Linked DNA regions of Homo sapiens: region 1 is linked to region 2. The links are contacts of gene promoters, found by promoter capture Hi-C in blood cells and fetal thymus (Javierre and others, 2016). All regions are on one chromosome and are shown on one strand. Each heading gives the region's core, a stretch centred on a gene start or on the middle of the fragment in contact. The rest is flanking DNA. Distances are from core to core; before and after follow the strand shown.

Region 1 (3,226 bases), core at 187-2,686, 110 kb after region 2:
TGGGAGGAATTTTTGTTTAGGAGACAAGAATATCTTTTTCCTAGATGATCATTAAATATTCCTCAGTATAAAAAAAGCCATGTGTTGATAATAATAACAATCATAATATTAATGAATAATAACAATAACAGACATTCATAGGGGACTTATTTTGTTCCAAAACAGTGTCCTAAGTGCTTTCCACATTATTTTAACTTATATCATCATCATAAAACATCTTACTGGTTGAGACTGTTATTATCATCATTCTACAGACAACCTTTTGAAGAGGAGCAGAGATTGCCTTACCACTGACTAAGGAGTGTCTTCCTCCTACTTAGGGTTCGGTAATGACGTGAAAAGCATTTTTAAAAAGACAGTAAATGGAGCATATTTGGGGTATGCATTTTACTATTGCTGGTGCCGATATGTGCTACAGCAAAACCTCTGCCAAGAGAGGATAAAAGGAGTCAGCTCATAGTGGGTGGATACTAGAACTAGACAGAGGTTCAGATTGACATTGTTTAGGGGGATGGGGAGATCTAACAGGAAAAGGAGATGACTCAGAAAGAACTTCCCCAACAGTTTAGGATGCCCCCTAATGATGGGAACATTCTAAGATATCCGCTAGAGAAAAAGTCCAGGAAGGTATGGCATAGATTTCTCATTGCTGCTTCAACATTCATTTACCCTTTCTTTATTAGTAAGAGAGCTCCAATTTTATTTAGGGTGGCAATGTGCCTAGCTAAAATAATGCATTTCCCAGCTTATCTTGAGATTAAAGTGGCCACTTCACTGAGCTATGACCAGTGAGAAGTAAACAAAAGCTATTAGAATGAGAAGACAGACAGCTGGCATGTGTCACTTTGCCCCTTCCTTTTCCACACCCTACCTCCTAGAATGCAGATATGATAGATGAGGCTCCAAACACCATTTTGGACTATTGTGGTGATCCTGCAGATGGAAGCCAAATAATAAGAATGGAAGAGCAGATGGAAGTCAAATAAGAATGGAAGAGCAGAAATAGAGATGGAGGATGAGTCCCTGATGATCATGGGGTCACCATATCTTCCCCAGACTGCACATCTCCAAACTTATTTTATGTGGAATAAAATATATCTTCATAAGTTTAAGCCATTGATATATCTGACATGTTGTTATATGCAGCTGAACATGATTCTTAGCGGATCCACAAAGTTAGCTGAAGGTTTTATGGGCAGCAGAACCTTCCCTTTACAAGGAAAGAAAACTCAAAAGACCCCTCTACCAACAGACAGCAAAGGTCCTGTGGAGAGAGGCCAAATGAAGAGATCCAAGCTAGGAATTTCCCAAGCCCTTGAACAAGACAATCAACCTCCTTGCTTCTCAGTCCTCCCACTGACAAAATAAGAAAGCTAAATGTGATTATTAAGTCTCCACTCCAGGTAGAAAATTCTGCAATTTTACAATTATGAGCGAATAAGACACACCAGTGTTGCTAAAAACCTGCTGAAAGGCTATTAGAGTAAAGGTGCTATTTTCTCCTGTAGGGAGAGGTAACTTAATCAGATTTGACTGAAACCCAGTCCGAGGCTGTCTGGCCACTTGGCACAGGGTTGCTACTACTTTCGGATCAGCTTGTGATTGCCATAATCAGGGACTATTTGATTGGACAAACAAGTTCATTTCAACAGACTTAAGCATTCCTTATCCTAGTAACACAGGGATATCTTACTGAAGCAGAGAACACCAGGGCAGGAAGTCCAAACAGGAAAACTGAGAACTGGAAAACCAAAAAGTCTCTCTCCCTGTCTGTGGTCAAAGTGGTACAATCACCTTGGCCTCCTCCTCCTATTTCTCACTACTGTTAAGCTCCTTTGCTGCAGGTCTTATATGGTAGAAATATGAAAATGGCTTTCCCAGCTCTACATAATCTCTCTTTCAAGCTAGTACATGTGTTTCACTGGTTTACACTCCACGTCACTCAAATTTCTCATGGAATCTGATTGGTTCAGCTTTAATTAGCAATGACCCTGGGACAGTGTAAAGCCACAGGGTACAGGCAGGATAGGCAGGGCTTTGGGGCTGGCTCTCTAGGGAGGAGTATGACTGGGAAGGGAGAATTTGTATCTTCAGAGTAACAGTAAGGAAGTTTTTTCAGCGTTCCTCTTTAGGACAGGATGCATGTCTTTCCAATCTAAGAGCTCCATCCACAGGACTCTGCTGAGGTGGGGCAGGATGAGCGTAGATGGATTATACCAAGATATATCAAGTCGTGCCTCCTAACCTGCCTGGAGTGATACAAATGTATCACTGTTTTGAGTTTATAACATTTACTACAGAAGAGTTCTATGACACCTGTGTACGGGCATTTGGAATGATTACAGGCACTTGGAATGATTACAAATTGAAATAAAATTATTATGAAATTTTTGTTGAGACTCTAATAACATAGCATTCCTTCAGATAATTAAAGTGTTGGAAACAGGATAGAAAAACTGCTAATTTAGCCTTCCTTTTATCTGTTTCACTAGCTCTTGTTATAACCTTCTCTACTTTATGCAGAACTTGTCTGTGTAATTCAGAACTTGTTAATTACCACCTTGACCAGTTCTGAACTCTGTTATTTGTGGATCATCTTGATAATTAACTGGATGTTTCTATATTTTAATTGGATAGAATTCATCACTTTATACTATATTTACAATTGTTATGGTATGAAAGCCACCTCACTAATAGATGTTTTGCTTTTTTAAAACTATAATAATATATGGAAACTTTTAGTATTTTTATTTATTTTAGAATTTGGCTCAAAATAATAGTTTCCATGACATCTTCTATCCCACATTAATAATTATTTTACCCTCAAGAGCATAAGAGATTTAGTTTGTTGTCAAAATTTTGTTTTCTCAAAATTCAATTTCTCTTAGTCTTTAGTCTCTTAAGCATAAAAAGATGAAATATAATACATAGAGGTCACACTAAAAAATAAAATCCAGATTTAAGCTTCTTATGGTGGCTTAGACAGGTCACTTAATCCTCTGAACTTCAATTTTCATTATGTAAGGTGGTCAAAATAATATCTGAATCTACTCCATGTAATTTTTAAGTTTACTAAATGAAATATGGTTATGAAAGTAATTTTAAAAATGTAAGAATGTGCAACATTATTAGATACTATCAACAGGAAGCTTACCTATTCTTCTATGTCTTATAAGATGATAAATTGCTGTTGTCAGAATAAAAGTAGATGAAGCATAAATGAATC
Region 2 (3,242 bases), core at 369-2,868:
AGTAAGTTCCTCTTGGTTCCCCGTTTCATCAAAAGTGAAAAACTGTTCACAGGAGTGCCCATGTCCCCTGTTTCCCTATGCATCACTAGAGCCAAGAGGGGACTCCGCCAGCAAGGCACCCTCTGCTCTGTCCCGCAGATCACAGTCCCCGACTTTCACCCCATTGTTTGTGCAATGTGCAGAACTGGAGCCCAAAGCAGCGGGCTCAGGATCACTCTCCAGGCCCGGCGGGCCCATAGACTCCTTCCTTGGCTGGGAAGAGGGGCTTTCGTGAAAGCAGAGCTTGACAAGCCCCAGTACTGTCATGGTCAAGATCACCAACACTACTACTGCTGTGCTCACAAATATGAAGACCACGGCAGAGGAGGAGTCGAAAGCCTGAGGAGTGGCAGAGGAAGTCGTAGAATTAAACTTGGAAATCACGCTCCCTGATGGGGTGATAGTGGCCTTTGACTCGGCTTGAAGGGACATTTGAAGGGTAGACATCGTGCTCTGTGATCCCCATCGAGGAATCTCAGGAATAGATGTTACTGAATTGTCTTGTTCAGGGACAAGTGGTGTCTCTCCCAGCTTCTCGTCGACCCTGATTGGCCATGTTCTCTGCGGCACGGGGCTGGTTGCAGTGGCCGGCGGGCGCCTGGTGGGCACCCCGGTCCCCCCAAGGGTCGGCTGTCCTTCCCCACTGGTCACACAAGAGCGGCCGTCCTTCCCCAGCTCGAAGCCCGTAGCACATTCGCAGGCAAAGCCTCCCAAGTCGTCTAGGCAGTTAGGGAGCTCTGCGCATTTGCCAGCACGGAGGTACCTCCCGGGGCAGGGACACAACACATCGCCCGAGAGTTTGTCCCAGCGAGCGCCGATTTCGTCCGCGATGCAAGTAACTGAGATCGGGAGCTGTCCCCGGCAGAGCGCACTCACCTCGGTCCCAGGTGGACTGAAGTCCAGAGCGGCGCTGTGCAGCTGGAAGGGCGCGCGATAGCTCAAGTTAGAGGCGGCCCCGGGGCGCGGCGCAGGACACAAGACCTCAAACTGGTACTTGCACAGGTAGCCGTTGGCGCGCAGGTGGCATCGCATCTCCTTCCAGCCTGCGGGCTCGACCCCACCGGTGGCCTGGAGTACCGCGCATCTCCGCGCGGTGCAGGAGCGTTGGGGCTCCTCCACCCACTGCAGCGTGTCGCTTTCGAGACCGCCGGGGTCGGAGGACAGCCAGGAGAAACCCCGCAAAGGCTCGTTCTCCAGGGTGCAGTGGGAACGCCTGCGCTCCAGTGCGACCCAGAACAGCAGGTCTTTGGAGCCCCCTCCGGGCCCTGGGCCTGCCCGCAGGAGCGCGAGCACAGCGCGCAGCTCGGCGCCCGCACGCACGGTGCTGAGCGCCCCACCTCGCAGGATGCAGGCCTCCTCGGCCGCCTGCCGCTTCATGGTAGCGTGGTGCAGGCTGTAGCAGGCCCCCGAGGCCGAGCAGCCAGCACGGTCGGCAGTGGGGTGTTCGCCGCCGCCCGGCCCGGGCCAGAGCGCCTGCCAGAGGAGGCACAGGGCGAACGCCGGCCTCATTCTCTGAGGCCCCGCACGCAGAGCTGCTCCCAACTTGGATCTGTCCCGCTCGAGGACGCAGAGCTGTGTCTGGAGCGCGGTCACCGCCCTCTACAGCTGGCTTCCCCAACCCGGTTCCCCCTCCCTTCCCCTCCGCCCTCGCTCCCGACGGACCCCCCAACTGCCAAGAATCCCCCCGCGGGCCCAGCGGCCAACAGTTTCCCTTAGGCCGCGACAGGAAATGTGTGCGGAGCGCTGCCAGGCCCGGTGCAGCCCTGAGTTATTCTGGGGTCAGGAACACAGCTGGCGCCGGGTACAGGGGACGCAGTCGACTAGAAGGTCAAACACCCTGCTTAGAGCAAGAGGAGAAATTCGCCACTGGGATGAAGTGTGTGGTTTTTCTCCGTTCAGGGAGTTTCATCAGGACCGCAGAACCCATAACACGTAAGCGAACATAGGCAGGAAGGACTTGAGAAAGGAACTGGCTTATGATTATAAGACCACGCCCGTCTATTGTGTTTCTGTCCGGAGCTGTGGAGTTAGCGTCAGAATAATTCGTAGACGGCTCCAGTGTTTGGGGGGCCTGTGCCTGTGGGGGAAAAATATGTTGTGAAACAACTTAGCAACTGCTTTTGCCACCAGAGGCAGCACTATTTAACCGCATATCTCTCTATGGGTCTTTGCTTCTCTATTATGTCAAGAGATTTCAGGAGTCCTAACTACTAAAGAATTTGGAGTTGTTTGGGTATTTTAAATGGGAAATTCTGCTTCTTCCATCAGCACTTGCTTTAGAAATTTATTTTTCACTTCCACGTGTTTCTCTTTGAGTTAGACCATATTGATTCATTACAGAAAGGAAATGTATTTCTAGGACTAAATGAAAAATAATGACCATAGATCTTAACAGTTAGGTTGTTAGCTTTCCTTGCCACTGTATTGGTTCAAAAATTCTTCAAGTTTATAGGTTATACATAAATGAGTTCGTGGCCTTATAAATATTCGAGAACAACTGCCCTATGTGTGATTTTAGCCTTGAACTATTTTAGTATCATTTTCTCCTATGATTGAGTGGCAGCATTTATAATAGTAAGTTGTAAACATCTCCTTTAAGGAAAATTAGAGTTCCTTAAGAAATTAAAATGTTTATTCCATTATAATGAATATTGTATACTGTCAAAAAATATCTTGTAATTTGAAAGATGGGTGAGCCAATTTCTTTAGAATTCCAGTGGGTGTTTTGTTTTAATATAAACATTTCAACTCAGTGGGAAGTGGCAAGGAATTAAAGATGAATAAAGAAGTAAAGGTTAAAAACTGTACTGTTATGAAAGGATTTCTTGTTAGCAACTTAGACAATTCAGTATCAGTTTAGAAAACGTACATTCTATCTTGGTTCATAATGGCCAAATACGTTGCCATCAGAAATACATAGAGAGTTTCAGCTAAGCCCTCTTAGAGATGTCTGATGCTTTTAAATATCTTTAATCAGAATGAAAGTTGCCATTCCATGGATAATGCATATAAGCTCACTTTGTTTTACTGCATTCAGGTTGATGAGGGGTGGGAGGGAAGGTTTCAGGATCACATCTGTATGCTTCCATCTTATTTTTACCATAACTCTCATTCTTCTTTCCTCCTGGAAATTCCATGTATCTTAACAAACAACAGTAAGCCTATGAGTCATCATCATACTTACCTTGCTTTTGCTGAGTATG

The links. The method cuts DNA at HindIII sites, captures the fragments that hold promoters and counts their contacts. A CHiCAGO score of 5 or more calls a contact.
Region 1: a contact is called between a fragment that was not itself captured here and the fragment with the promoter of CLEC14A in region 2, in 1 of 17 cell types (endothelial precursors). The highest score is 5.7, in endothelial precursors.

The regions. Positions count from the first base shown.
Region 1 is chr14:38,366,045-38,369,270 of GRCh38, forward strand. No RefSeq gene overlaps it. Among named protein-coding and RNA genes, the nearest start is that of CLEC14A, 110 kb to the left of the region's middle. The HindIII fragment of the contact is 3,051 bases long and covers 1-2,962 here.
Region 2 is chr14:38,254,475-38,257,716 of GRCh38, forward strand. It overlaps CLEC14A (C-type lectin domain containing 14A), which reads right to left and starts at 1,619. Exons shown (of 1, transcript NM_175060.3): 1 at 1-1,619. The coding sequence starts at 1,548. The coding sequence ends at 76. It overlaps LOC112268136 (a long non-coding RNA gene), which reads left to right and starts at 1,571. Exons shown (of 5, transcript NR_169588.1): 1 at 1,571-1,971. RefSeq lists an enhancer at 801-1,428. The HindIII fragment of the contact is 4,914 bases long and covers 1-3,242 here.